Regions from separate parts of the Homo sapiens genome. Here regions 2, 3, 4, 5, 6 and 7 are each linked to region 1. The links are contacts of gene promoters, found by promoter capture Hi-C in blood cells and fetal thymus (Javierre and others, 2016). All regions are on one chromosome and are shown on one strand. Each heading gives the region's core, a stretch centred on a gene start or on the middle of the fragment in contact. The rest is flanking DNA. Distances are from core to core; before and after follow the strand shown.

Region 1 (4,178 bases), core at 986-3,485:
CCCCTATACCTCCCAAGCAGTGACTGCAGGGACCTCAGGCCCCAGGGGGTCTAAGCTGGGGAGTTTCAAAGCCCTGTCAATCCCATCGGGAGAGGGAGCCCCGGCTTCCCTCCCGTCCCACTGCCACCGATTCAGCTGGGAGCAGGCTGTGTGTAAGTTCCCTGGGGCCATCTCCCAGTCAGCTGTGCCCAGGGGACCCTCCGCCCCCACTCTTCCTCCCCCAGAGAGCGAATCACAGATCCAGTTAGATAAGTGGAGAAAAGTGGGAACAAAGGGAAGGAAAGTCATTTCCTGTCCAAAGGAAGGAAGGAGGCAGGGATCCAGCCAGCCACCCAGACCAGCTAGAGGCTGCAGCCTTGGGGCAGAGAATGTGCAGCTCAGGGGGGGTCACCCCCACAGTCCTCCTTCCTACTCCTTGTTCCCTACAAAGAAAAAAAAAAACAAAAAAACCTCTGGGGCCACCTCTAAGCTCTGTTCTTTTTTTTTTTTTTTTTTTTTCTGAGACAGAATCTTGCTCTGTGGCCGAGGCTGGAGTGCAGTGGCGCAATCTCAGCTCACTGAAACCTCCACCTCCCAGGTTCAAGCGATTGTCCTGCCTCAGCCTCCTGAGTAGCTGGGACCACAGGCACACGCCACCACCCCTGGCTAATTTTTGTATTTTTGGTAGAGACAGGGTTTCACCATGTTGACCAGGCTGGTCTCAAACTCCTGACCTCAAGTGATCCGCCCTCCTCGGCCTCCCAGAGTGCTGGGATTACAGGCTTGAGCCACTACACCCGGCTTAAGCTTTGTTATTTATTTATTTATTTTGAGACAGAGTCTCATTCTGTGGCCCAGGCTGCGCAGTGGTGCGATCTCGGCTCACTGCAACCTCCGCCTCCTGGGTTCAAGCGATTCTCGTGCCTCAGCCGCCGAATAGCTGGGATTACAGGCGCGCGCCACCACACCCGGCTAATTTTTGTATTTTTAGTAGAGACGGGGTTTCACCACGTTGGCCAGGCTGGTCTCCAACTCCTGACTTCAGGTAATCCGCCCGCCTCGGCCTCCCAAAGTGCTGGGATTACAGGCGTGAGCCACCGCTCCCGGCCAGCTTTGTTCTTTAATGACCGGATAAAGCAGTCTACCTTTGGGTACGGAATTAAATTTAGGCAGAAGTGGCGGGGTGTGCCCCAACCCCTCCCACCCTGCAACTTAGGGGAGGGGTTCCCTCAACCTCTTTCCCACCCCAGGGAAACAGAGGAGGTAGAGAGCTGGGTTCACACGCGGCCCCACTTCTTTCCTGCGGGGTGACCCCGAATAGGTCACAGAAACTCTCTGGCCTCGTTTTTTCATAAAGTGAGAATGAGTGTGTCCCTAGGGCGGCTGAGAGGATATATAAGGAAAGAAGACTCAGGGTCTAGGCCCTTGGAAGGTGCAAAGAGAAGGACAGCTGGTTAGGCAGCAGCTGAGAGGGAGAAGCAGCCCGGGGGCTGGGCTCGGCTGGGGGTGCCTCCAGGACCCGGACAGAACCTACAGCGTCATTAAGAGCAGGAATCTGGGCGCGGCCCCAGCCTCTCCCCGGGGTCCTCAGGCTTGGGTGGGAGGTGAGGGGTAGGGGCCGACGCCAAGATCATCCCAGGGCACACACCTGGGTATCGCCCATCTCCACACCTTCTCAGCCCCCGACGGGCGCGTGAGGCCCAGAGAGGAGCAGCCCCGGGACCCGTCCCTCCCCTTGCCTGACCCTGGCTAGGAAAAGGGGCCTGGAGCGCCCCCGGGCTCCGGAAACGCGGGACCCTCCGCAGGCAGCCGAGCAGGGCGGCCGCCGGGGTCACCGCTGGGCGCCGCCGGAGCTTTAATTCGATCCATGTGCGGGACTCCGGCCTTTTGTGCGGGAGCTTCCGCCCTGCGCGCCGGGTCCCCGGCTCCCGCTCCCGGGCTGGGACTCGGCCCTCCGCCGGCCTCACTGAGCCCTCGCCCCGGACCTGCCGACTCCCCGACTCCGGGGAGAGAGACCAAGAGACTGGGACGCAAAGGGCGTGAGGACCGCACCCCCCACCCGCAGGCCCCTCCAGGGGCGCCGCGCCGGGGGTCCCGGCTGGCGACCGAGCAGGCTCCGGCCGAGCACTGCCGGCGCTGTCACCTGTGTGCACCGGGGACAGGGACGGAGGGACGCGACCCCCACCCACCCGGCCCGCTTACCTGGGCCGCCCGCGCCCCGGCGGCTCCGATCCGACGCCCGAGCCAGCGGAGCCCGGAGCCGCTGGGCCTCCCGTCCCCTCCGCCCGTCCGCCCTCCCCGCCCCCTCGGCTCCCTCCGCCCCGCCGCCCCGCGCCGCTTTACCATAAAAGGTGAGGCTCGGGGGGAGGGGGCGCGGGATTCCCGCCCCGCGGAAGCGGCCCCTACCTGCCCCCCAACCTGCCCGGCCGCGCCCCGCGCCGCCCCTTCCCCCTCCCTTTGTTCCCTGGACGACGCCTCCCCTCCCCCTTGGCACAGGCCAGGGGGTGGGAATGGGGGGGAATGGGGATGGGGGCGATGGGGGAATGGGAGGGATGGGGAGTGGGGGTAGGAGAATGGGGAGTCGGGGTGGGTTTCCTTCCCTCCCCGCTGCCCATCCCCTCGCGTTCTTCATGGACCCCGAGTGGTCCCTGCCGTCCCCCTTCCCTCGCTCTCCTGGGTTGGCAACCCCACCTACCCTGTCCGGCGGAGGTGAGCGCTTACTTTGGCTCTGGGATCCGCCAGGGTCTTGCGTCAAACCGACCAGGGTTCTGCGGCCGTTTACTAAGCGTGAGACCCGGAGCAGTCACGCCACCTCCTGAGCCTCAGTGTCTTCATCTGTAAAGTGGAGGTAGCCACTGCCTACCTCTCCAGGTTGGCCTGAGGATAAAAGGTGACAGTTACAGCCAGGACTGTGATTAATAGTGGTTAATATATGCTGGGTTGGGGGCTTTTTCCGGGAGTGTTCCTGAGGGTGGGGGTCTCGGAGACCCCCAGTGGAGCAGGTCACCTTGTTCTGCTCTCCTGAGCGGTAAGCCCTCTGCAGGTGGGTCCCGGTGTCCCGGGGGACAGGCCGCTCCAGGAGCTCTGGAAGGCAGGGCCCGGCTGGCCCTGTGGCTGAACCCCTCCCTCCACATCCAGTGACCCTCCCCCTCCCAGCTGGAGCAATTAGGACGGGAGCGGGAGGGGAGGCAGAGCCTGGACTCTGGGGCCCGGGATGGGGCCGGGATGGACTGCCTGGGTCCCTGGAGGCCTCAGGGACATTGTGGGGAAAGGAATCTGGGTCTGATTCAGAGGCAGACAGATTGTTCTTTTGATTAAAGCCACAGTGGCTGAGGCTTGAGGAGCGCTGGACCCAGCGCCATCTGCGGGGTGGCCAGACAGGATCTGGCCCGTCCTGCAACCCCTCAGCTACAGTCACCCCTCCAGGGTGGCTCTGGGGCTGTTTCTGAGGGAGGCTGGTTTATGAGGGTCAGAGGAGGCTGCCTCCGCCCTCACCCACTGATCATCGCCCCTCCCATCCCTCTTGTCGCCCCTTTTCCCATTTGATCCTCTCAGCCAAGCTGCAGTAACAGCAGCAGTCCCAGGAGCTGCCATTGATAGGGGCTTTCTAGGTGCTGGTACCCATCCTCATCCCCATCCTAATCCCACAAGAGCCATGAGCACCAGGGCTGATGATTCCTGTTCACGGTCAAGGACACTGAGGCCCCGAGAGGCTCAAGGCCACACTAGGGGCAAATGGCAGAGCCAAATTCAAACCAGAGCCGCTGTGTCCCTGGGCACACAGCTCTGCTAGTCTCAAGAACAGGTACCAGTGCCATCCTTTACAGAATCGGAAGCTGGGGCTTGGAGGTGCTGAGAGTTCTGTGCAGCAGGGCGAGGCTGGGACTCAAGGCTGTCTGAGTCCCTGCTCGGCTCATTCCTGGCTTGGCAGTGATATCCTGCCCCTGCCCCCCAAAACTCCAGCTTTGCAGCACCCTTTGGAGGAGACTTCCCCATACCCTCTGAACGACAGAGACGGGAAGGACTCAAAGGAGGAAGGTGCGATCTGGGGGTTTTCAGGCGCTTTTGGCTGTAGAACCCCTTTGCAAATGCTTAGTGACCCAGAAGTTTATTTAAGAGATAAAAGTGGAGCTGCCTGCCCTCACCTCCATGACAGCCCCTGAACCACCTGTTGCACCCCCAGGTGGGATAGTGAGGCA
Region 2 (4,178 bases), core at 498-2,997, 500 kb before region 1:
GTTCGAGACCAGTCTGGGCAATGCAGGGAGTCCCCATCACTACAAAAAATTTAAAAATTAGTCGGGCATGGTGGTGCTTGCCTGTATTCCTAGCTATTTGGGAGGTTAAAGTGGGAGGATCCCTTGAGCCCAGGAGGTTGAGGCTGCAGTGAGCCGTAATTGTGCCACTGCACTCCAGCCTGGGCAACAGCAAGACCCTGTCTCAAAAAAAAAAAAAGGAAGAAGAAATGAAAAATAGCTGATGCCACATGGTGTTCTTAGATGCTCACCCTGTACTCTTCAGGACTGATGCCTTCTCAGTAAATCGTATTGTTCCCCTAAGTGAGATCACAAGAAAGACAGTCCTCTGCTCTACCTTCTCAACCTTGAGACTTTGTAAGTGACACCATTAAAGCAGTCTGAGCAGGGCTTTTCAAACAGTGTTCTGTAATGTGCTACTGAAAGAGGAAGCAAAGCTCTCCACCTAGATTGGAGCATCTCGACTGCTGTCAGGTTAATGTAGTGTTGGGATTTCTTCTGCTTAAGATATCCTTTGAAAAATGAGTCCTGCAGCTTTAACCAAAAAGAAAAAAAAAAGATTTTAAAAAAAAAAGTATTCTCAGCGAGGCATGGTGGCTCACGCCTGTAATCCCAGCACTTTGGGAGGCCAAAGCGGGTAGATCACCTGAGGTCAGGAGTTTGAGACCAGCCTGGCCAACATGGTGAAACCCCATCTCAACTAAAAATGCAACAATTAGCTGGGCATGATGGCAGATGCCTGTAATCCCAGCTACTCAGGAGGCTAAGGCAGGAAAATCACTTGAACCCAGGAGGTGGAGGTTGCAGTGAGCCGAGATTGCATCATTGCACTCCAGCCTGGGTGACAAAGCGAGACTCCACCTCCAAAGGAAAAAAAAAGTATTCTGGTATTTACTGACACCTGGATATTGGGACAAGTTACTTTGGTCTTGAGGAAACTAAAGGTGACATGTAGAGTGAGGGATGGGGAAAAATAGCAATTGTTATTTCAAAGACAATAGATTTTGAAAAATTATGCTCCTGTAAGACATTTGTTATCTCTAAAGTTTTCCAGCATAAGCCAAAGTGTTTTTTTTCAGAATTTGGTCAGTGTAGCCCAGAGGTCCAGTCTAGATGGTGTTTGGTGTAAGACTTATGGTTTCACTGGAATTCCTTCACACCAATCCTTGAAGGTCTGCCCCATTTGTGCTAGGCTGAGGCTATCTGGTTATGTGAAGCCCATAGCTAGGGGCCTGGAGGTCCCTATGTTAAAATTTGACTCACGGGACAAATAAGAACTGCCTCCTGCCTCCTTTTCTTACCTGTGTTTTGTAACGAGTTATTTTTAAGTTGCATCCAGACATCCAGCCTCTATGTATACTTCTCCCTGGTCCTCTACATTCTTTCTTTTCTTTGTGACCTCTGTTAAGTTTGTTAAAGGGATGGGAAGGGGTGCTCATTTGTTGAGCACTTTCTATGTGCCAGGCATTATGTTAGGTGCTTTGAATATACTATTTAATACTCAAAACAGCCTTATGAGATAGGTACTCTCATCCCTAATTTTAGGTGAGCAAATTATAAACATGAGAGAGGCTAAGTAACTTTTCTCTAACTCATATTTCTCTGTTAATAATAAAAGACGTGTGAATTAGTGATGATTTTCTCTCAGACTCAAACCCAGTTTTCTTTCCACCTTTCCTCTACACTTTGTAGTATTAGTTCCCCTTTTGTTGCTCTTCCAGGGAAAGGTGATCTATGGATAGCCTAACTACGGATTGTTGTGAGATCCTGAATGCTAACCATGGTGTTACTGACTTTCCCTAGGGTCCTATCCTTCCCCCAAAGCTGGAGCAACTCTGGTCGTGTACAAGGACTTGCTAGTGCTGTTTGGTGGCTGGACGCGGCCAAGCCCTTATCCCCTACACCAGCCAGAGAGATTCTTTGATGAAATACACACTTACTCACCCTCTAAAAATTGGTAAGTCACAAAGATAAACTCTTTAAATCTGGAAGAAAAGGCCTTAAATCAGTGGATTCTTTGTTTTTTTGTGTCAAGAGTCCCTTTGAGAATTAGATGGAAAGCTGTGGACTCTTTTCCCAGGAGGGGAAAAATGCACATATTCACAGATTTTACCAACAGTTTCAGAGAGTTTACAGGACTCTCTTAGAACCCTGCATTTAGAATCCTTATTCTAAAGAGAAAAAATAGAAGAGATTTATTCCTCTTTCAAGAAAAATGAATGAGCCAGTTGAAGAACAGCGAGCTCTTCAGCTTTGGCTGCTAACACTCCAGGAGTGTTGTAGATCCAGATGATTCCTTACTCCTAACTGTGTCTCCAAGACTTACTCTGAATTGTTTTTCAAACATATATCTCTTAATGACAGCAACCGCCGTTTCTTGTAATGGAAGACTTAGTACGTGGCGCTTGTTAGCTGTTACTGATCAGGACCATAGGGAAAGGTAGCAGGTGGCAGGTGGTGCTTTGTCAGCAAACCAGGCCAAAGAAGCCATGATCTTGTCTCTTGTCATCGTTTTCTCATCTCTCTCCCTCCAGACCGTTTACATTCAGAACTTGAAAGAAGATAACTTTAAGCAAACTTGTAGGAAAGGCATAAATACATTATGCCATCCTCTACTTATTATCCCAACAAATCTCTGCTGAAAGTGATAGGATTATCATTTTAAATGGATGCCTACTTACTATTTTTACATAAAGTGTGTGGTGCTGACTTCTTGACTTCCTCCTGTCTTTTTACATTAGGTGGAACTGCATTGTGACAACCCATGGGCCACCTCCCATGGCTGGCCACTCCTCCTGTGTGATAGATGATAAAATGATTGTCTTTGGTGGCTCTTTAGGATCCCGGCAAATGTAAGTACATTTGGTTTGCTCCATATGAGCCTGAAGGTAAATACTCCTGGGAATAACAGGTTTAAAAGTGAATTAGGGACCAGGTGCCTAATTCACACCTGTAATCCCAGCATTTTGGGAGGCCAAGGTGGGTGGATCACCTGAGGTCAGGAGTTTGTGACCAGCATGGCGAACATGGCGAAGCCCCATCTCTACTAAAAATACAAAAATTAGCCGGGCATGGTGGCACACACCTGTAGTCCCAGTTACTTGGGAGACTAAGGCAGGAGAATCGCTTGAACCTGGGAAGTGGCGATTGCAGTGAGCCAAGATCACCCCATTGCATTCCAGCCTGGGCAACAGATCGAGACTCTTAAGGAAAAAAAAAAAAAAAGTAAGTTAGGGTCAGTATTCCTGAGCATGGCTCTAATTAATCCAATTAGTTATCTCATCCTAGCATTCTGTTCTTTAATCCCTTAATCACAGACCAATAAATTGAAAAATTTGCTCTATAAAATCATAGTTATATAGAATCTCTTTGACATATGGTTCTATTCAGTAGGATCAAATTCTGATGGAACCTCCACCTTGCCTGCTGTGCTGTGCCTGCAGAAGGCCAACTTTCGAGAACAGAATGCTTTTACTTATTCTACTTTATTACCCAGCTCTTGCCCTTTTGGGCTTTAGAGGAGAAGAGGGGGAGATTGACAGGACAAGTGGAAATGGTGGGCCCTCCAAATGTGATAGGTTGGTTGAGCCACATGTAAAGGGCATGAAAAGAAAGAAAGAAGGAAAGAAAAGAAAAAAACAAATGGGATGGGTTGTGGAATGGGTAGGAACAGGAAAACTGTGTCAGGCATGACATTTCTGTGAGGTCATTGTCCCTACCTCCTGTCCTGTCCACTTCTGGCCATACTGGACAGCTCAAGCCATAGTCAGGAGCCAGAGCATTCCATCTGTATCACTGTCTGATTCAGCGGTAGCAGCAGTTGTGGTCATTCCCCCTGTGCTCTGAAGTGGAAGTTGATGAGCTGTCAGCAGCAAGACCATCCCACACCTGTCCTCCCTTAGGGCATTTCCATCTTCATATTTTAAAACAGTTATGGAGAGAGATTATAGGAGCTACTCTCCCAATGAGAGAGTTTAGGATTTCAGATATTGGAACTATTATTCCTGTATTTTTGTGGGTGAATCAATGACCTTAAGTGACCATGAAAGAGAGACTGCCATCCAGGAGTCTGTCCTCGTCATGTTGGTCCCTTGAGGGTTAGAGATGCCAGTCTGTCCTTGATAAAACTGCAGCTTTCATTAGTCATTGTGCAATTACTT
Region 3 (4,178 bases), core at 598-3,097, 440 kb before region 1:
GCCCAAATTGTGGGTCAGGCAGTATCATCAGACACTGAGATACAGTGGCAAAGAGACGAGGCTCAGCCTTCGTGGGGCTTATATACTGGAAGAGAGTTAGACACTCCTCAGGGGAGCTGTCCAGTTGGCTCTTTGGAACAGACGCTTGGCAGAGAGGTTCAGAGAGAGGTCATGAATCGCTTGAACCTGGAAGGCGGAGGTTGTGGTGAGCCGAGATCATGCCACTGCACTCCAGCCTGGGAGACAGAGCGAGACTCTGTCTTAAAACAAAACAAAACAAAAAGCCAAAAAACTAACAAATAAAAAAACAAAAAAAAGAGAGAGAGAAAGGTCAAAAGTGTGCTTGGGGCTCAGGGACTGGTCTCCATCACCTCCAGCCTCCACCAGCAAGCCAGCGGGGAAGGAGCTCTTGGTTCCTTGTGGGGACTAGCAGTGCCCTATCCAGAAGCAGGACCCTGTGAGAACGCTGGCAGGGCAGGCAACCCCTTCTCCCCACTTCCAGTCAGAACCCACCTGATCCCGAGGGTGGGTGCCTAGAGCCAGGGCCCAGGCCAGGCTGACCTCCCCTCCCCCGGTCCTCCAGGCTAGGGAAGTTTGCCGTTTTCGTCCATGCCAAGATGGCTGAGCTGCAGGTGCGGGACCTGAGCCTGAAGCTGCAGGGCATCCCCGGCCACGTGTTCCTCCTCCAGCTCCTCCACGGGCAGCACATGAAGCACCAGTTCCTGCTGCGGGCCCGGACGGAGTGAGTGGGCCTGGATATGGGAGAGAGGAGGCTCCCCCTCCCCATGACAGGCACCCCGTCCCCATGATGGGCACCCCGTCCCCATGGCGGGCACCCCTGGGACATCCTGGCCTTGTTCCTCCCCAAGTGCTCAACTCTTCCCTGACTTGGGCAGGACACAGGGGCAGAGGGCAGGGCTGGAGGCCAGAGTAGGGGTGCCTGCCCCACAGGTGGTGTCAGGGGGCTGCCACCTCCTCCTCAGCCTCTGGGCATCTCTTGGATGTAAACCTCCACACCCTGCTATCTCTGGCTTCAGGACTGTGGCATTAGGCAGGATGGGGGTAGGGCTGGCATCCAGGGGGTTCTGGGCCTGTTATGCTCAGAGCTGGGTGGGGCACAGGCTTGGGAACCGGGTTGTGGGGTGGGCCCTGGGGTGGGGCAGACATGGGTCCCTAGGGTAGGCCTGGGTCCTAGGCCTGGACATCATGTCTGGCTCCCCCAGCCTTGGTTTCAGCACCCTGCCCTGGGCAACTGCACTTTGCATATTGTGACAACTTAGCCTCCCCCTTCCCTAGAAGTGAGAAGCAGCGATGGATCTCAGCCTTGTGCCCCTCCAGCCCCCAGGAGGACAAGGAGGTCATCAGTGAGGGGGAAGGTAGTAGCTCATCCCTGCTGCTTACATCCCTGGGCTGGACCCTCGCCCGCTCTCCTCCCCTCCCATCCTGGGTGCTGTGTTGCTGGCAGGGCTATGGGGAGAGAGACCAACTTCTGGGGCAGTCAGGGGTAGCTCTGAGGAACCTTGAAGGCTGGGCAGAACTTACATAGCACAGGTGGACTCTGTGTCCACAGGCAGCATCCTGGAGATCATAAAGCCTTCGTAGCCTCCCATTTCACCCCTGTTTTACAAGTTAGAAGAGAGGTTCAGAGATAAATGGACTTGTGTAAGTTCACCCAGCCAGTAAGTAGCAGAGCCGAGACCAGAGCCCAGGTCTGTCTCCATCTTTGCGTCAGTTGCAAACAAGACAAGAAGCAGCCAGAGCCAGGGTATGAGGGGTGGTGGGGGTAGTGGTGGCAGGTGAGGCATCTGCTCAGCTGGAATAAAGGTTTTTCCTTTGGGTGTGAAGTGAGGCTGGTAAGCCAGGGTGCGACCTAATCATAGAGAGCCTTCCTATAGTGTCCCTAGGGAGCTATTGAAGGTTTGTTTGGGGTTTTTTTGAGACAGGGTCTTGCTGTATTGCCCAGGCTGGAGTGCAGTGGCATGATCATGGATCACTGTAGTCTCAACCTCCTGGGCTCAAGTGATCCTCCTGCCTTAGCCTTTTGAGTAGTTGGGACCACAGATATGCACTACCACACCTGGATACCACACCTCTATTTTTATTTTTTGTAGAGATAGGGTATTGCTATGTTGCCCAGCCTGGCCTCAAACTCCTGGACTCAAGCAATCCTTTCCCTTCAGCCTCCCAAAGTGCTGGGATTATAGGCATGAGCCATTGTGCCTGGCTTATTGGAGGCCTTTATTTATTTATTTTTTTGGAGACACAGTTTTACTCTGTACCCCAGGCTGGAGTGCAGTGGCACAATCTCTGCTCATTGCAACCTCCACCTCCTGGGTTCAAGTGATTCTTATGCCTTAGCCTTGCGAGTAGCTGGGATTACAGGCACTTGCCACCACGCCTGGCTTTTTTTTTTTGAGACAGAGTCTCACCCTGCCATCCAGGCTGGAGTGCAATGGCACAATCTTGGCTCACTGCAACCTCCACCTCCCAGGTTCAAACAATTCTCCTGCCTCAGCCTCCCAAGTAGCTGGGATTATAGGCGCCTGCCACCATGCCCAGCTAATTTTTGTATTTTTGGTAGAGGCAGGGTTTTGCCATGTTGACCATGGCTGGTCTCGAACTCCTGGCCTCAAGTGATTCACCTGCCTCAGCCTCCCAAAGTGCTGGGATTACAGGTGTGAGCCACTGCACCCAGCCTTAATGGAGGCTTTTGAGCAGAGGAGTTAGGGCTGAGCTTTAGGTAGTAAAGGGAAAGAAAGGGCACTCATGCCCACTGAGCGCCTGCCATAGGCCAGGCCCAGGGCTAGGGGCCTTGTATTTGCATTAAATCTAATTTAATCCTCATGGCAACCCTACTAGGTAGACATTTTTCATATCTGAGAAAACTCAGGCTTAGAAGGTGAAGTAAATTGGTCACACAGCCAGTAAGCGGCAGAACTGGGATTCAAGCGAGGTCTGGCCCCTCAGTCTGTGGCTTTGGATGCTACCAGCCCACCTGGTCTAATGAAAAGAGCTGAGGACCAGGAAGGGGGTAGATGCTCTGGCTTGAGCTAGGAGTCCCACCTGGGTGGGGGTAAGCTCTCTATTCCCAGGTGGTCAGGGGAGGTCCCTGGCAATTAACATCTGACCCCTGAAGGATGAGGAGAGGTTGTCACGAAAAGATCTGGGGAAGAGCATCTGGCAGAAGGAAGAGCCAGCACAAAGGCCCTGGGGCAGGAGGGAGCTTAGAGTGAGGAACAGCAGGGAGGCTGGTGTGGCTGGAGCTTTGTGAGCGAGTAGGGAGGGAAAGTGGAGGGGAAAGTAGGGAGGGAAAGTGGAGGGGAGAGTAGGGAGGGAAAGTGGAGGGGAGAAGACGAGGATAGCAGGGGGCGATGCCAGACCATGAAGGGCCTTGTAGGGCCTAGGGAGGACTTTGGATTTTATTCTAAGAGGACTGGGAAGCCCTGGAGGGCTTTAAACGGGAGCGATGCAGCTTGAATCCCAGTTGGGAAGGATGGGCCAAAGGGAGCACCAGAGTGATGTTAGGGGCACATTGCAGGGCCGTTACTGTTTTCTGTGGGGTATCTGGGGGCAGTTGGACGTTGGGGTCTGAAGGTCACAAGCAAGGTGTTGGCTTGAGCTGGGGAGGGGACAGCCCTTGGTATAGAGGCAGAAACTGAAGCTGGGAGGGACTGGATTAATCCTGCACTTGTGTTTAGGGTAGGAGAGGAGATAGGCCAGGGTGGGCAGAGGGTATGCCTGCTTGAACGTGGGCCTGTGGCATGGCAGTGGCAGAGGAATAGAAGCCTCAATGGCCACCTTCCCACCCCCTTACTTCCTCCTACTGCCCCTCCCTGCCCTACCCATGCTCCTCCCCCTGCCATCCTGCCCTTGGGACTCCCTGAGCCTCCCTTGGGCTGTCAGATTGCCCCCAGGTTCAGTGTGTTAGGACATACAAGGCACTGCACCCAGATGAGCTGACCTTGGAGAAGACTGACATCCTGTCAGTGAGGACCTGGACCAGTGACGGTGAGGGGGCCTCCTGGGAAAGTGTCCCTGATGGGGCTTGGGTGGGCAGGAGGTGGCTAGATGACTAAGATATCACAGGGAAAGGTTCTGCAAGTGTTGATCTGCCACAGCATGTGGGAATCAGGTTAGATGAGAGGAGGAACTTCCTGCTTGTAAAGATATAGGATGGA
Region 4 (4,178 bases), core at 884-3,383, 440 kb after region 1:
CTGTCAACTCGCCCAGGCATTGTGGCTCACGCCTATAATCCCAGCACTTTGGGAGGCCAAGGTGGGCAGATCACAAGGTTAAGAGATGGAGACCATCCTGGCCAACATGGTGAAACACTGTCTCTACTAAAAATACAAGTTTAGCTGGGCATGGTGGTGTACACCTGTAGTCCCAGCTACTCAGGAGGCTGAGGCAGGACAATTGCTTGAACCCAGGAGGTGGAGGTTGCAGTGAGCTGAGATCGCACCACTGCACTCCAGCCTGGCAATAGAGCAAGACTCTGTCTCAAAAAACAAACAAACAACAACAAAACAAACCCATCAACTCAAAAGAAGGAAAGAATGGGGAGAAAAAGGAACATAGGTAGTACACCTGGCCCTGAGCAAGTAGATAAATTTAAATCCCAATATGCCAGCAATTATATTAAATATACTTGGACTGAAAGACAAAGATGGTCAAACTGTATAAAACCTATGTGCTGTTCACATGAGATACACATTGTAAAATAAAGATTGACATAAAAAGTATGAAAAAGATAGTCTATGAAAACTCAAATCAAAAGAAAGCTAGTGTATCTGATGGAGCTACCTTAATGACAAAGACTTTAAAGGAAAAACATCTCTAGCAATGAAGAGGAACATCTTGTGATAGCCAAAGATTTGATTCGATAGGAAGTAATGAAATGGTAAATACATATGCATCTACTAACACAGCTTCAAAATATATAAAGCAAAGATTGACAATATTAAAAAAAGAAACAGACAAATCCACAATCATGTTAGGATCTTCAAACAATATGCCTCTCTCAGTGGCTGACAAAACACACAGACAAAAAAAATCAACAAGAGCATTTAAGTTTTGAGCATTATCGGCAAGCTTCATTTAATGTCCATATACAGAATACTAAACCCAATGACTGCAGGATGCGTATTCTTCTCAAGTGTGCACGTGGAACTGCAGTCGGCCACATGCAGGCCATAAAACAAGTCTCAATTAATATCAAAAGATTGAAGTTACACAGAAAATGTTCTCTGACCACAGTGTAATTAAGCTAAAAATCAGTAACAAAAAAGGTAAGCAGAAAACCCTCATATATTTAGAAATTAGGAAATAAGCTGCATAGTAACCCATGGGTGAAAGAAGAAATCACAAAGGGATTTGGAAAATATTTTGATCTGAATAATAACGAAAATACTACGTACTAAGACTTGTGGAATGCAGCCAAAGCCTTGTTTAGAGAAAAATTGATAGCCCAGAGAGCATTTTGACTCCATGTTCATGACTACAACTATTTAAAAGAAAAATATACCATAGCAAGTTCATTTTCATTGAGAGGGTATTTTCTAGAGCAAAGTTCATTAAGCCAGTTGTTTAACAGATTTCCAAATGTTTCCATTTTCACTTTAGTCTCCTGAAATTATTTTGATCTGGATCAGTTCTTTTGTAGGCAAATTATACAATTATGATTTGATTCATCCATAAGTTTTTCTGGACCCTATCAAATATTTACCAATCACAGGTCTGTCTGTCTGTGTTTTATTTTGTAGTTTTCATTTCTACCATGTCCATTTTCCCCATATTATATTTTACAAGTCTAAACTTTTTCAAGAATATTTGATTTTTTTAAGTGATTATTTTAATTTTTTGTAGACAGGGCCTCACTGTGTTGGCCAGGCTGGTCCTGAACTCCTGGTCTAAAGCAATCCTCCTGTCTCGGCCTCCAAAGTGCTGGGATTACAGGCGTGAGCTACTGCACCTGGACAAGAATATTTGATTTTTCTCTTAAGTTTTAATTGATAAATAAATTTTACTTTGTATAGTCTTAACTGTTGATTTTAATTTTGTGTTAATTATTTCTGCCAAGTCTACTTATGTCTGGCCAACTTTTGCAGGCTTCAATACTATCCATAAGATGTGATCCTTGTGTAGTATACATTTCAGCTCACGAGGTTTTAATGATTTGACTTCTGCTGACTATACTCACATTCATATTAAATAAAATTGGAGAAAAATAGATTATTTGCTTTTATTTCTCAGATCATCCCTGAGAACCTCCCTTCACATAGAATTCCTCTGCCTTTTAGATTTGTTCTTAAAATATTCTCAGTTGTGGTTGGGCGTGGTGTCTCACACCTGTAATCCCAGCACTTTGGGAGGCTGAGGCAGGAGGACTGCTTGAGGCCAGCAGTTCAAGACCAGCCTGGGCAACATAGTGAAGCTCTGTCTTTATTTATTAAAAAAAAAAAATTCTTAGTTTTCTCAATGACAACCATCTTCTAATCAAATAAACTAGATGATTCAAATGGAAAGAAAGAGATTCTGTCCACACTGCTCAGGACTCTCGAAGATATTTTCAGTTAAAAAAATTAAAATAAATGTGTGATCCATAAGCATCTTTTATACAACTCTTCAATTGGTTATGTTGCTAAAAGAGGTCACCATTAATTTAAAACAATAGGACTTGCTGTGCTGATGGAAATTTCCATATCTGTGCTGTCCAGTGCAGCAGCCACCAGCTACACGTGGCTACTATGCACTTGGAACGTGGCTGGCAACTGAGGAGCAACGTTTTGTTTTATTTATTTTTAATTAAATTTTTTTTTTTTTGAGACGGAGTCTTGCTCTGTCGCCCAGGCTGGAGTGCGGTGGCACGATCTCAGCTTGCTGCAACCTCCACCTCCCAGGTTCAAGTGATTCTCCTGCCTCAGCCTCCTGAGTGGCTGGAATTACAGGCCTCCGCCACCACATCTGGCTAATTTTTGTATTTTTAGTAGAGACGGGGTTTCACCACATTGGCCAGGCTGGTCTCGAACTCCTGACCTCAGGTGATCCATCTGCCTCAGCCTCCCAAAATGCTGGGATTACAGGCGTGAGCTACCGGCTTTAATTTAAATGTAAATAGCCATGCGCGGTTAGTGGCTACTGTTATGGATAGCGCAGGTCTGGAGTATGCAATACAATTTTTTTTCCCATGATGGGAAGGGACATTAAAATAATTAAGCAACACGAAACTCAAAACTGGGATTGGGAGGCCAGAGGTGGGTCTCATTACCAAAAAGCAAGAAACAGTTTTAGAAGGCAGTGAGGAGTAGTGGGGTTACTCACAGGGGCCTTGGAGTCAGACCAACCTGGGTTCAAGTCCTGCCACAACTACTTTATGCAGTGAACCTGGTCCCTGTCCCTGTGTGAGCCTCAGTTTTCTCAGCTGTAAGAAGGGTTAATACCAGCATAGTCCACTTAGAGGACTAACAGGGATGATGAGTGGGGAGCTACCGCCCACACCACTCTCTGGGCCTGTTGTCCACTACGTACCTTGCTTTTTTCTCTCAGAGTCCTAGAGATCACGCTTTGTTCAGTACAACTCTTCCTCAGCTCTGCCCTAAGCTTCTTCATTTCTTTCTCCATGTCTTGGATTTGCTGAAAAAGTTTCAACAAGAGTGAACCTCCCTGATGGGGGCAGGAGCTGCCTTCTTGGCTGAGAGGTCTGAGCCCTCATCATCCCCTGGCATCCCATCCATTAAGGTGGAAACCTTGTCTGGTATCAGCTTATTTAATTCCTTCTCCTGGAGGAAGGTTTTACATCTCTCAGCAAAATAGACTTTATTTTTCGACTGATATATTAAAAGTTCTGGATAAAGGAAATTAGTTTCTTTTGGAAGTCAGTACAGCTCCTGGATTAAGGACTACAGGACACCCATCAACTCACTTGAAACCCTGCTCTTGGGTTATATTTTTGAGTTCAATCTAAAGGGCCAACTGTTTGGAAGACTCAACAGGCAAGGTCTGGAAGAACGGAACAATGAAATGTTTTTTCTTTTTTGTTTGAGGCAGAGAGTAAAATGTTCCTGGCCTGGAGGAACGGTGCTGGCGTGGGGAAGAGCAAGTTGGAGAAGCTGAACTTCCCGAGTGGAAAACGCACACCTGGTGATGTGCAGGGTGGATTCGGAGGGCGTCAGGAATACACCTCCTTTGACTTTTAATGGTCTTATTTTCATTGTATTTATTTTTATGGTTACCTTCTACATAAGGCAAATAACTTTTTCTTTTTTTGAGACAGAGTCTCGCTCTGTTGCCCAGGCTGGAGTGCAATGGCACGATCTCGGCTCGCTGCAACCTCTGCCTCCCGGGTTTGAGCAATTCTCCTGCCTCAGCCTCCCAAGCAAGCAACTGGGATTAC
Region 5 (4,178 bases), core at 740-3,239, 300 kb after region 1:
GGCTGGTCTCAAACTCCTGACCTCAGGTGATCCACCTGCCTCGGCCTGCCAAAGTGCTGGGATTACAGGCATGAGCCACCACGCCTGGCCTATCATTGACAGTCTCTTAATCAAGGAGCAGATGAATGAACGCTGGCCTCTCTAAACACAGTGACTGCTGCATGGGTCACTCTGAATGCTCAAGGCTAGTGGGCTGCTAGTTGCTCCTCCTACTTAAGGTAGAAACTCATCCTGATTCAGCTGGGTTTGCTCCCAAAGCAGTTTATATCAATTATGCTTGTAATAATGAAATTTGATTAAACATGTAACCAATGAAATATGAGTTCAGAAAGAGAGTCGTTATTTATATGGAAACAAAGTTAAATGCTTGGAAGAGACTGGATCACCATGACTCTTAAAAAATTGCTCTTGAAGTAGTGTCTGTGAGAAAATGGAAAGATTGGATGGGCTCATAACTCAGATTGCTTTGTGAACGTCTCAAAGTTACTGCTCTGCTTTAAAGAAACGGGTTTGTAGATAAGATATGGGGCATGGCTTATATGAAAAAGACAGTTAAGAACTCAAAAAATTGTTTACATAGTCTAAGATAAAATCTTTACTATATATATATGATTTAAAATAATTTCTTTATAACCAACTTTTCAATTACTCGGTCCCAATTACATCAGATAAATGAGATTTCACTATATTTGTTTATGTCAATGTAAACTTTACACATTTCTCTTAAAATCCCCACCATTAACACGTCTGAGTAATTTACACCTGTGCCCCACTTGGCAGTTTAGTCTTGATACCACTATGATTATATCAACTTAAGAAAACATTTTTTTCATTGGTAACATTGATTTGCCTGTGGTTAAAGATTAATCTGCGCAAATAGCACTGATTGGTTCCTTAAAGCAAGGAATGTTTGCATAGGTAGTCTTGAATGGTTCCTAGACTGATGGTACATTTGTAAACAAGCCTCTGATTGGTTAATAGAGTAATACTATATTTGCTGCCTATGGGCAGTGGGGAGGGGACAGCTCCTTACTGCAGCTGGAGGAGGCACCTCTCCCTCCACTCCCAAGGTTGGCCAAGGCCACAGAAATGTATCTTTTTTTTTTTTTTTGAGACAGAGTCTTGCTTTGTTGCCCAGGCTGGAGTACAGTGGTGCAATTTCAGCTCACTGCAACCTCTGCCTCCTGGGTTCAAGCGATCCTCCTGCCTAAGCCTCCCCAGTTGCTGGGATTACAGGCGTGTGCCACCACACCTGGCTACTTGTGTATTATTAGTAGAGGCAGGTTTCACCATGTTGGCCAGGCTGGTCTCAAACTCCTGACTTCAGGTGATCTGCCCACCACAGCCTCCCACAGTGCTGGGATAACAGGCATGAGCCACTGCGCCCAGCCGGAAATATATCTTATTGCTAAAGTTGCCTGTGCTGCTCTCTGAGTCCCATCAATACTCACTTTGCCAGCACAATAGACGCCATGGTGGAAGGGCAAAGGGGAGATGTAAAGGGAGTGGGGCAGGGACGGGGAGAAGTACAGTGTGGTCAACTCACCTGCCAGGGCCAGCTGTTGGGCCTCGCTTCTTCACCGCCAACCACCCTAGTCACATAAGGTGGGTAAGTGGGGTCCCCACAACTGAGGGCTGTGAAAAGAGAAAGGGTCTTGAGTCAGGAAGCAGCGACCCACACAATGTAAACTACACTTGCTGCGCATTCTGACCCCCCAAATAGAAAACCCTTGTTCTAGAAGGATCCCAAGAGGTCATAGAATCCTGCTCTTTGCTCCAATTCTTTGAAACTCCATTCCAATGTTCTTATGATTATAGGTCTGAATGCAGTAGGGGTTGGGTGGGGGCGAGAGGGGAGGACAGGAAGATCCCATTTCCAGCCCCACCAGGGCATGGGAAACCAGTGCCTCTGGGTAACAGGACTTACCTCCAGCCACCAAAGTGGACAGCAGCAGCGTCCTTATCATGGTGTGTCCGTGGGAGTTCTGTAAGCGTGGCCCTGGATAAGGCCCTGGTTTTATGAGCGGACTTATCAGTGAGAGATACAGTAAGAGCACGCAAGATGGGGTTTTCTCAAAGCCCAGTGGAAAAAAGAGCTGTGTCCAAATATTTTTTTTTTCCCATTTCCTCCCAAATGTCACCCTAGAAATACTTTGAAAAAGATGCCAAAGGTAGATATTGGAATATGGGTTCCATCTGTTTTGAAGAGATTATGTTGTGTGTTAGGGAAGGAAGAAAAATACTAATTGTTGGTGCTCGGAGTTGTTTTTTTTTTTGTTTGTTTGTTTTTGTTCCCCTCCCTGGGTAAGACTGAGGAGAGGAGTTGTGTTTTCTTTCTTTCTTTCTTTCTTTTTTCTTTCTGAGATGGAGTCTTGCTCTGTCACCCAGGCTGGAATGAAGTGGCGTGATCTCAGCTCACTGCAACCTCTGCCTCCTGGGTTCAAGCAATTCCCCTGCTTCAGCCTCCCTAGTAGTTGGGATTACAGGTGTGTGCCACCATTGCTGGCTAATTTTTGTATTTTTAGTAGAGACGGGGGGTCTCATCATGTTGGCCAGGCTGGTGTCGAACTCCTGGCCTCAAGTGATCTGCTCGCCTCGGCCTCCCAAAGTGCTAGGATTACAGGCTGAGCCACCATGCCCGGCCAGGAGTTGTGTTTTCAATGAAAAGATTAAGGTGGCATGCTGAGCCCACAGCATTCTAAGGCAGTATTTCTCAATGGGGCTGGTTCAGCCCACCAGGAGACGTTTGACAACATCTGGAGAGAATTTTGGTTGTCATGGCTGGGGTTGATGTAAATTGGCATCCAGTGGGCAGGGAGCAGAGAGCAGAGACGCTGCTAAACACCCGACAATGCACTGGGCAATAGGACTCGCCCTGCCCCAAATGTCAATGGTGCTGAGACTGAGAAAGCCTGTTCTAGGCCATACCAGGGGTTGCAATGTGACCTTGGCTGAGTCATGTAAGTCTCTAGACCCATCTGTGAAACAGGGAGAGAAACCCATGCCCAGTATTGTTTCACAACATTGTGGTAAGGATTTGTATAATGTGGGGAAGGTGCACATGTAGCAGAATTTGCATAATGCGGGGAAGGTGCACATGTAGCAGAAGGCAAGGCCGACATGCACAATTAGGATCTGGCCACTCTAATGATGGGGGGAAGCAGAACGCTGGCAGAGGAGGGCTTCATCTGGTGGATGAAAATGCACTTTACGGCCGGGCACGGTGGCTCACTCCTATAATCCCAGAACTTTGGGAGGCTGATGCGGGCAGACCACCTGAGGCCAGGAGTTCAAGACCAGCCTGGCCAACATGGTGAAACCCCGTCTCTACTAAAAATACAAAAATTAGTAGCGTGTGGGGCTGCATGCCTGTAGTCCCAGCTACTCAGGAGGCTGAGGCAGGATAACCTCTCGAACCTTGGAGGTGGAGGTTGCAGTGAGCTGAGATCGCACCACTGCACTTTAGTTTGGGCAACAGAGCAAGACTCCATCTCAAAAAAAAAAAAAAAAAAGACCAGCTCCACACTCTTAAGACTTGATATCAAGTGTTTTTTTTTTTTTTTTTTTTTTTTTTTTTTTTTTTTTTTTGAGACGGAGTCTCGCTCTGTCACTCAGGCTAGGGCGTAGTGGCGCGATCTCGGCTCACTGCTACCTCTGCTTCTCAAGTTCAAGTGATTCTTCTGCCTCAGCCTCCCTAGTAGCTGGGACTACAGGCACCGGCCACCACACCCGACTTATTTTTGTATTTTTAGTAGAGACGGGGTTTCACCATATTGGCCAGGCTGGTCTTGAACTCCTCACCTCGTGTTCGTCCGCCTCGGCCTCCCAAAGTGCTGGGATTACAGGCATGAACCACCGCGCCCAGCCGAGTTCAAGTCTTTGATCCATCAATTTTGAGTGTGGTGGTCTGGACAAGCCACTTATCTTCTGGGCCTTACTTTCCTAGATAACCATCCAGGCCTGGATTGCAGGATTGTTGTACGGGTAAGAAAATGGGTGGGAAAGAATTCTGCAATCTCCCTAGGATGGTGCAAAGGTGAGAAAGATTGGGTGGGGGGCAGCATCCCATGGGACTGGATGTCAGAAGATGTAGATTCCAGTCCCAACTCCATCCCATAATCCCTGTAACAGTTTGGACTCATTTGTGGTCTGTATGAGTCACTACAGCAACCAACTAT
Region 6 (4,178 bases), core at 534-3,033, 280 kb before region 1:
AGGCCACCTGGGGCAGGGCATGGGGTCACGGCACAGGGTGGGGCAGGAGGCACAGACAGTCCCATCCTTGGAGGCCTGCTGGGCTTCAGGCAGAGAGGCTGGGGCAGGGGGATGGAGCTTGGTGGTATACTCTGGGGTAGTCCCGAGGGGGCCCTGCCTCACATAAGTGGCCGGGCAGGATTTGTGGGAGGTGACAGTGGTGACACAGTGGGTGCCAGGACTGCTGCCCCTACCAGAAAGCCGTTGACCTGCCGACCCTCCGCATCCCTGCCTGTACTGGGAGGTTCCTGGGGGACAGGGAGTATGGAGGGGGCTGGCAGCTACAGCTTTCACCTGCATCCCCGCAGAGTCCATAGCTTAGAGAGCACCAGGATCTAGCAGACTCCTGCGTGTCCCAGGACCTGTGGCGCCAGGTATCCTCTGGGTCCCCAGCAATGCTCCTGGCCCACTGGCTGCTAGCCCAGCCTGGGAGCTGGCCCTCACTGGCTGTGGGCACCAGCCCCTGGGGTTGCAGTCAGCCTCCTTCTGTGGTCCCTACTTGCTCTGCCCCGTAGCTGAGGGGACAGTCAGGTCTCAAAGTGAACAAAGCACATGGGGCTCCAAGGAAAGGTGCCAAGTGTAGGCTGCCCCAGCCCCTTGCTGTGGCCCCAGCTGTCCCAGCAGCTAACCCCCACGTCCCCTCATTGGCACAGGTAGGTGAGGGAGAGGCCTGGGTGGAAGATGGGCACAGTGACCAGGCCTTGGGCTGTATCTCCCGAAAGGCAGAGGGCAGATGCCCGGCCCATCTGACCCACAGACAGCTGGACAGACAGACCCCTTCCCTCCCTGCCACCCAGGAGACTTTGGGCAGTCATGTCCTGGACAAATGCCAGGAGGAGGGTGGTTCCTGGGCAGGGAGGTGGGGTGGGAGCTGGGCAGGAATGATGTCCTGAGTGGTCCTCCAGGGGGAAGGGAAGAGGACCTGGCTCTCACCTCGGATGCCTCGGCGGATGCGGGGACAGGGGCCCCACAGCTCCTGCAGAGTCACAGGGTTCCCTGAGGAGCCTTCACGCAGCCCCACAAACTCCTCCATCAGGCCCCTGGAGAAGCGGATAGAGGGAGGGACCGCGGTGAGCTGCTGCACGTCCTCGCACTGCCTCTAGGCCCTTCCAGTGCTCTCCCCACCCATGAAGAGGAAAGATTGTGCGTGTGTGTGTGTGTGTGTGTGTATGTGAAGTTATCACACTAGGTCTGTGTGTGCCTTCATCCCTGAGTTTCCGTCACTGAGGGTGTGTGCCTGTGTGTGTCATTGTGTGGGATGGGGGTGGGATTCCTAGGTGTCCCCCTGTGTCCAGCAGCAGACTGGGCACAGGCCGGAGCCCAAGCCCTGCTCAGAGCCCCTTCCCCTTCGGTGGCAGCCGCTCCCACCCTCCTGGGTCACTTGGCGCTTCCACTGCTGGGAGCAGTCTCTGCCCAGGGCTGTGACACTCTCACTGCAGAGTCCCATGGATGGCTCTGACTCTCCCTGTCCACCTATGAGCACCCCTGACCCCAGCTCAGGCCACAGAGGCAGCAAAACCCCAGGCCCAGAAGAAGATCCCACCAGGGCCAAAGTGAGGTGCTGGCTCCTGCCCTTACCACCCCCCCCCCCCCGCCCTGCCTGTCTGGCCCTGGCAGGCCCCAGCATCTTGCAGCGACCCCTCACCTGTCAGTCCTCCTGCTGTGGCTGAGCTGGCCCTCCTCTCACAGAGCCTCCAGCTCCCCTGCACCTGGACAGGTGTGTGTTCCAACAATCAACATCCTCCCCCCTTTCCCGCCTGGGCCCAGGGTTTATGGCGAACACTTAGAATGTCCTTGAAAACCGATCAGAACTGCCCAGGCCGGAGCAGAGCAGAGCAGAGCTGCCAACAGGGAGGGGAACAGGAGCCTCCCCACCCACCATAGCTGCACAGAGGGTGGTGCCCAGCTGTACTCAGGCTCCTGGGTGCTGCTGGACGGGGGCTGGGAAGGGGGAGCTCACGCACACAGCAGGACAGAGAGGGGTCATCTGCCAAGGCTGAGGCTCAGGGTCCAGGGGTCTCAGAGCTGGACATGGAAGGTTTGGAAAAGCACAGAGGGAGAGGGGAGGAGGCTGGGCAGAGAAGGAGAAAGCAGGCCGGCAAAGGTGAGTGGGGCCAGCATGACCACAGCCTCCCTGTGTGCCAGGTAGAGAGTCAGCCTTCCCCTAGATTAATTACCCTGAGTGCCCACGGAAATCCCACGAGGCAGGCAGCGTGATCCCGTTGTAGAGAAATGGTGTCTCAGGGAGGTGGGGCTGCCCGTCTAAGATCACGGAGGCCGAGGCAGCGCCAGGATTCCCAGCCCAGGTTTGCCTGGCTCCAAAGCCCGCAGGCTGTGCCACACGGTCCCATCCTGATGACCCATCTTGTCCAGGGCTGGCGAGGAGGCCGACACCTGGGGCAAGGCAGTGAATTGGGGTCAGGAACTCAGACTTGATCCTGTGTCCAGACCCTCCAGGCTCAGGAAATGCCTCTCAAAGCACACGTCCAAGGGCCAGCGGCTCTGGTGGGGACTTCTGGGTAATTCCACAGAGTTTGTCCCACCCCAACAGAGGATGGCAGCACAGGTGTGAGGGGACATGGCGAGGAACAAGCACGTGCCGTGTGCCTGCAACGTGTCAGAAGCGTCACATCCGCAGCTCAAGTCCTCCTCCCCACACCCTGTGAATGGGGAGAGCCTCGCCATTTTGTAGATGGTCAGAGAGGTGAGTCACTCATCCAAGGTCACACAGCAGAGGCTGAACCCAGCCCCACACTGTGCAGCTCTTCCCCTGCCCAAAGCTCCTCCAGCTCCTGAGGCTGAACCAGGGCAATGGTTTGGGCACAGAACAGAAGAGTTGTGTCTGATGCCACTTTGGGGCAAGATGTTGGGGGCAATTGCCTCCAGTCCTACCCAGACAAAGCCACTCTCTGAATAACATGATGGCCCTTGGATGATTGTTAAAATCTGGGACCCTGGGCCACCCTTTGCCCCTAGATGCCAGGCAAGTCAAATCAAAATTGAAGGTGTGTGTTGTGGGAGGTGGGATGGGGGTTGCCGCTCTGCATGAACCCGAGCCCACCTTCATCTTGGCCACCCTGACCTGTTGACTCTGCACAGCACCAGAACTGGCTGCCCTGTCAACATCCGGATCCCCAGTGTCTGGTCTGGGGCAGCTGCTGGCTACTGTCCCACAGCCGGCACTGCATGTCCACATCCACCCTCACCCCCCAGCCCTGTGTGCCCCAGGAGGCTGAGAAGAGGGCAGCCAGGGGGCGCAGGACCCAATGCAGGTCCCTCCCAAACCCACTGCCTCCACATCAGCCCTAATTTCTCCCCTTCCATATTAGTCGCCTGGCAGCAGTAGCGGGGGCTCAGTAGAGAGACAGCAGGGGAGAACCCAGGGCGGCTCTGTGACCCTAACACCATCACCATCCGGAGCCTCTGTTTTCCTCCTCTGTCAAATGAGCTGAGCCTGAGACCTGGGTCTCTGTCTCATGACAGTGGGGGTCGGGTGCCCAGGACCTGCACAGCCCCCTCGCCTCAGAGCAGCTGAGGACGGGATGGGGGACAGGGCACGCTGAAAGAGACAGGGCAGGTATGGGTGGGAGCGGGGCGGTACAGAGAACCCACATTCAGAGGTCACTGAGTCCCCACACTACTTTGCATCCTGGCAGGTGACATGAAGCAGGGTCCCCTGCCCTGCTTTTATTCCAATGGTTACACCCCCACTGCCAGGTGCCTAGGAGGGGAGGGAGGCTCTGGTTATTCCTGGCTTCCCAGAGGAACTGTGGGGACAGCTGGGGAGCTAGCAGACCCCCCATCTCCCACCCCTTCCCAAGACAGAGGCCTTACCAGCTCACCCCCACAGCCCCTTCCCATGCCTTACCTGGTCCCACTGTCTTCAGTGAGAGGGGAAGGGAGTTTGAAGAGTGAGGAGTGCTGGGGGTTCCTTAGGAACACCAGGCTCCCAGAGTCTGAGGGTGGCTCCAGAAACCCCAAAGGTTCTAGGCAGTCTCTGGCTGGGCCCAGCTCCAGGTGGAGGGGATCTGAGTGTTTCCTCAGTGACCAGGTCCCTTCCCCTTCACTTGGCCACTCCATGCCGGGTGCCTTGGGGTGCCAGCCTAGGTGTACTGGCCTGTGGGCTGAGGACCCACCAA
Region 7 (4,178 bases), core at 960-3,459, 260 kb before region 1:
GTTTCAATGAATACCTACTGAGTGATGAGGGCTTCATCACTGGCCTATGAGCTGGCTGTGTGGGGAGCTGATGGGAAGAGATGTGAGGTCCCTTCCCCAGATCCCAAATCAAAATCCTGGGGTCCAAGGAAAGGGTCTGTGTTTGTGAAAAGCTCTCCTGGGTGACTGGGATTCAAAGGACTGCATCATCTTTGTAGCTCCTTCTGTCTCTGTGATCTGAAGGTAGAGGCAGGGGAATGTCCTTGATGACCTTTTGAGGTCCCTCTGGGTCAGTGAAGCCAGAGGATCCAGTATTTGTGTGGGTGATGCCTCGGGAAGGGGGAAAAAGGGGAGGAGGAATGGTGGGCGGGGGTGGGTAACGGGATCTGACATCCAGGGGCAGTGACTCAGGCCCTCAGCACCATGACAGTGTGTCTGCATTTAGCCACCGGCTCCTGTTTCCCTGGCGAGCGGCAGGCTCTGGGCCCCCCACCCCGCCCCACCCTCTCTCCATCTCACCTCAGTGCTGGTGGCTTCCCAGCTGCCCTAGAAACCCCTCAGCCAGGCTGGGTGTCACAGGCCCCGACACGGGCAGGAAACTCTGCCAGAGGCAACAGGCCCTGTTGCTCCAGGCAACAGCCTGGCCCGCCGCTGTGCCCTGTGCCCTGCTCTGCTTCCACTCCACATACCACCAGCACCGCTAATACCCCTGTAGAAGGAGCTCTCCAGGATGAAGCTCCAGACTGGGTTGTAGGGGGCTCAGACAAAAGAGAAACTGCCCGTCTTCAAGAACCTTCAATCTAATGGGGAGACAGGTGAACCCTCGCCCCCGTGGGAACTGCCAGTTGGATAGGGAAGAAGGGACACAGCAGAGAGTCACAGCACACAGGAAGACTATGTCACACTGCCAGGTGCTGTGGGAGGACAAAGACAGTCAGTGCTGGGGGCATCTGGACTGGGTGTGGGCCCATGTGAGCAGGAGCAGTCAGAGAGGCCTCCCTGGGGGAGGAGGCATTGGAGCTGATCTGGGACGGAAGGGACGGATTTGGAGAGGACAGCAGAGGCCCTTAACTGCAACCTGGGCAGAGCAGAGGGCCTGGCCGCCTCTCAGAATGGCCTCCACCCTGGCCCAGGGCAAGGTCAGTCCCAGCTTTGCTGAGCAAGCAGGTGGGTAGGGAGGGGCTTCTCTGGCTCTTCCGGGCCAGCCTGTCTCCATAGGCACATGTTCAAACCACCTCGGCCTCTGAAGGGCTTTGGGTCCAACACATCTAGGTTCGAATCCCAGCTCTGCCACTTACGCAACTGCGAGCCCCGCCCTTTCCAAGAGGCTTCGCTTCCCCGTCCGTAACATGGGAAGAGCCCCTCCACCCTCCCAGCTGTGTGGGGATCAAACGGGGCCGTGCTGGACAGCTTGCAGCCAGGAGCCCATGCCCAGAAGGCATTCTAGAACTCAGGGCTAGAATAATTGTCTTCCGGAATTCTCTTTTACCTCTGACTGAAATCCCACCTAAGGCGCTCGCAGGCATCACCTCTGACACAGAGATGGAGCAGACAGTTGCCGGGAACACAACCTTCTAGACCTTTAAGGAGAAAGCTGCCAACTTTGTCCTCTTGGGGCTGCTGAATGTTCTGAGAGTCAGAGGGAGTGCAGGCACAGAATCCAGGTCCCCATGGGGGCTGGCAGGGGACAGCTGCACATTTTACACCCCCTGGCAGGGCTCAACCTTTCCTTAGAGATGGGCTGTGAAGGTTGTCTGCCTTGAGGGAAGGAGCTCCTGACGTCACAGAGCGGTGGTGCTTCCACCTACCCTGTCCCCAAGGAGCCTGCACACTGATGGAGGAGGTACAGCCGTGGAGGAGAACCAGAGTCTGGAGGGGAGGCACAGTCCTCAGGAGCCCCCAGGCTGACGGGGGAAACAAAACACACAATAAACCCCAAACTTGCAAGGTTCTGGGGCAGGCACCGAGGTCCGAGTGGCAAGGAGACAGGATCCAGCCCTGTGCAGTGGTGAGGAGGCCCCTGGGGCTGCTGTGATCAGCCTGGAATGTCAGGCTGTGAGCTCAGCCCTCTCGGCCTGCGTGTCGGGCTGTCAGCAGGGCCGGCGCACGGGAGAAGATTTCCAGCCCCCTCTGGGCCATGGAGAGGCCTAAATTTAGCTAGTAGACAAGGGGCTGGCCCCAAGCCCAGGGACAGTCGGCCTTATAAAGCGGCCGCAGTCGGAGCCTGGCACGCTCGCCCAGAGGCCTGCGCCCACACCCTCTCCTGTCCAGCCCTCGCCCGCCTGGGCAGGGCCCGGCGCCGTCCGTGGATGAGCCACAGAACCTCTTCCACCTTCCGAGCGGAGAGAAGTTTCCATTCCTCTTCCTCTTCCTCCTCCTCTTCCACCTCCTCCTCGGCCTCCCGTGCTCTCCCGGCCCAGGACCCGCCCATGGAGAAGGCCCTGAGCATGTTTTCCGATGACTTTGGCAGCTTCATGCGGCCCCACTCGGAGCCCCTGGCCTTCCCAGGCAAGTGATCCGGGCCCTGAGGGGAGGGGAGGTGCACAGGGAGGGGACGTCTGCTCCAGGGCGCCACCGAAGGCGCTGTGGCTGCCGGTCGGCCTGGAACAGGTGCTGCACAGCCTGCAGCCATGTGTGGCCACCAAGACAGATGTGGCCACAGGGACAGATGTGGCCATGAAAACAGGTGGGCCTCTAAGGAACAGTTGTGGCCCTGGGGGTTGGACATGGTTCCATGGCCACCCATGCTCTGTAACCACAGCCAATCCCAGCTGGAGCCCTGGAGGGCTGGATGGGTGAGCGGTGGGGGGCAGCCCCCAGGCTCCAGGCCTGGGGTGGGGTTGTTACAGACCTAGCCTCATATACACACACACTGTGCTGGGTGAGGCCCCACCCCCACCCCAGAAAAGGTGGGCTGTAGGAATGAGGAGGAGCTTAGGGAGAAACAGCTAGGGGGGAGGTAGGGCCTGGGGGAGCCGCCCCTTGCCCCAAGAGAAGGAGCCAGAACCCCCGGATCTGCATGCAAGGCCTGCTCCATGCCTCGCTCACAGCAGCCCATCCCACAGCCCGCCCCGGTGGGGCAGGCAACATCAAGACCCTAGGAGACGCCTATGAGTTTGCGGTGGACGTGAGAGACTTCTCACCTGAAGACATCATTGTCACCACCTCCAACAACCACATCGAGGTGCGGGCTGAGAAGGTGAGCCCCCCACCCCCTACTCACCGCATCCCAAATTCTGCTCCTGCCTCCAATGTCTCCTACTCCCCCTTACCATCCTGGGACCCCAGACCCTGGCCAGTGTCCCTTCCCCACCCAAACTCCCCCAGGGCTAACTGAAGGCCTTGTCCCTGCAACCCATGGCCATGGGGCCCCCTCACTGCCTCTCTTTGCACCGAGGTTCCCAGATCCTTTCTTCCAGGGCCTGAGCAGCTGAGGGAGCCTCCGAGGAATGGGAGAGGGATGGAGGGATGTGGGCAGAGGGAGCCTGAGGGGGTGGGGCTTGAGGGTGGGAGATGACAGGTGTGAGATGGTGATGGCAGAGTGAGGACAGCTCCTCTGGTAGCTATAGGGGGGCGGATGCGGGTAGGTGGGGAACTCACCTGGGCAGTGGGGGGAGGGGTTTCTCCATGTGACCCACCTCAAGCCCTCTTCCCTCCCACAGCTGGAGACCCATCCCCCATCTTGGGACCCCTAAATTAGGCCCGAGGCTGGGCAGGGGCCCTGCAGTTTCGGGTCACACACACTCCAAACCACACACAGCGCCCGCCCACAGGTCTCAGGGTCACTGGGTCTCTAGCGTGTCTGAGTCCGAACTTCTAGGAGGCACTGGGGCCTCCACCCTGGAGAGGGTATGGCCAGGCCTGAACAGGGGCGTTGCCCAGGGACAGCCACGGCTGCCAGGAGAGAGGAGAGGACCTGACCCAAGCCTCCTCCTAAGCCCCCAAGGACTGGCTTCTTCCCCTCCACATTCAAGGGTGGATTTCTGGGCGTCCCTGCCAGGGATGCCATGGACTGGGGGCACCAAAACCCACAGGCAGCATGTGCCAGCCCTGCCACCCCCAACAGTGACTCAGCCGCCCCAAACTCCCCTGGACACTATGTGCTGGCTGAGTTGCGGGGGAGGGGCCGGCGCTCAGCCCTGGCGGGCAGATGCCCAATGTGCCCGGGGATCCAGGAAGGCACGGCTCTCCTCTGTCAC

What was found. The method cuts DNA at HindIII sites, captures the fragments that hold promoters and counts their contacts. A CHiCAGO score of 5 or more calls a contact.
Region 2: a contact is called between a fragment that was not itself captured here and the fragment with the promoter of FBLIM1 in region 1, in 1 of 17 cell types (activated CD4 T cells). The highest score is 6.6, in activated CD4 T cells.
Region 3: a fragment that was not itself captured here is called in contact with the fragment with the promoter of FBLIM1 in region 1 in 1 of 17 cell types (activated CD4 T cells); the score reaches 5.3 in activated CD4 T cells.
Region 4: a fragment that was not itself captured here is called in contact with the fragment with the promoter of FBLIM1 in region 1 in 1 of 17 cell types (neutrophils); the score reaches 6.1 in neutrophils.
Region 5: the fragment with the promoter of CELA2A here is called in contact with the fragment with the promoter of FBLIM1 in region 1 in 1 of 17 cell types (naive B cells); the score reaches 5.0 in naive B cells.
Region 6: a contact is called between the fragment with the promoter of CLCNKB here and the fragment with the promoter of FBLIM1 in region 1, in 17 of 17 cell types (M0 macrophages, neutrophils, activated CD4 T cells and 14 more). The highest score is 20.8, in M0 macrophages.
Region 7: the fragment with the promoter of HSPB7 here is called in contact with the fragment with the promoter of FBLIM1 in region 1 in 10 of 17 cell types (erythroblasts, megakaryocytes, M2 macrophages and 7 more); the score reaches 7.7 in erythroblasts.

Annotation. Positions count from the first base shown.
Region 1 is chr1:15,756,852-15,761,029 of GRCh38, reverse strand. FBLIM1 (filamin binding LIM protein 1) reads right to left here and starts at 2,235. Exons shown (of 9, transcript NM_017556.4): 1 at 2,182-2,235. RefSeq lists enhancers at 1-426, 4,103-4,178. The HindIII fragment of the contact is 4,964 bases long and covers 789-4,178 here.
Region 2 is chr1:16,254,403-16,258,580 of GRCh38, reverse strand. FBXO42 (F-box protein 42) reads left to right here. Exons shown (of 10, transcript NM_018994.3): 5 at 1,822-1,975; 6 at 2,760-2,870. Among named protein-coding and RNA genes, the nearest start is that of CPLANE2, 19 kb to the right of the region's middle. The HindIII fragment of the contact is 4,911 bases long and covers 1-4,178 here.
Region 3 is chr1:16,198,980-16,203,157 of GRCh38, reverse strand. ARHGEF19 (Rho guanine nucleotide exchange factor 19) reads left to right here. Exons shown (of 16, transcript NM_153213.5): 13 at 584-742; 14 at 1,297-1,376; 15 at 3,904-4,008. Among named protein-coding and RNA genes, the nearest start is that of ARHGEF19, 12 kb to the left of the region's middle. The HindIII fragment of the contact is 4,968 bases long and covers 1-4,178 here.
Region 4 is chr1:15,317,064-15,321,241 of GRCh38, reverse strand. FHAD1 (forkhead associated phosphopeptide binding domain 1) reads right to left here. Exons shown (of 34, transcript NM_001391957.1): 10 at 3,314-3,418. It overlaps LOC124903852 (a long non-coding RNA gene), which reads left to right. Exons shown (of 2, transcript XR_007065481.1): 2 at 3,833-4,178. Among named protein-coding and RNA genes, the nearest start is that of FHAD1-AS1, 25 kb to the left of the region's middle. The HindIII fragment of the contact is 2,508 bases long and covers 880-3,387 here.
Region 5 is chr1:15,454,543-15,458,720 of GRCh38, reverse strand. It overlaps CELA2A (chymotrypsin like elastase 2A), which reads right to left and starts at 1,989. Exons shown (of 8, transcript NM_033440.3): 1 at 1,928-1,989; 2 at 1,547-1,635. The coding sequence starts at 1,967. The HindIII fragment of the contact is 8,750 bases long and covers 1-4,178 here.
Region 6 is chr1:16,041,387-16,045,564 of GRCh38, reverse strand. It overlaps CLCNKB (chloride voltage-gated channel Kb), which reads right to left and starts at 1,783. Exons shown (of 20, transcript NM_000085.5): 1 at 1,685-1,783; 2 at 973-1,079; 3 at 1-7. The coding sequence starts at 1,072. The HindIII fragment of the contact is 13,884 bases long and covers 1-4,178 here.
Region 7 is chr1:16,016,074-16,020,251 of GRCh38, reverse strand. HSPB7 (heat shock protein family B (small) member 7) reads left to right here and starts at 2,209. Exons shown (of 3, transcript NM_014424.5): 1 at 2,209-2,487; 2 at 3,045-3,178. The coding sequence starts at 2,289. RefSeq lists enhancers at 1,916-2,660, 2,661-3,407. The HindIII fragment of the contact is 15,911 bases long and covers 1-4,178 here.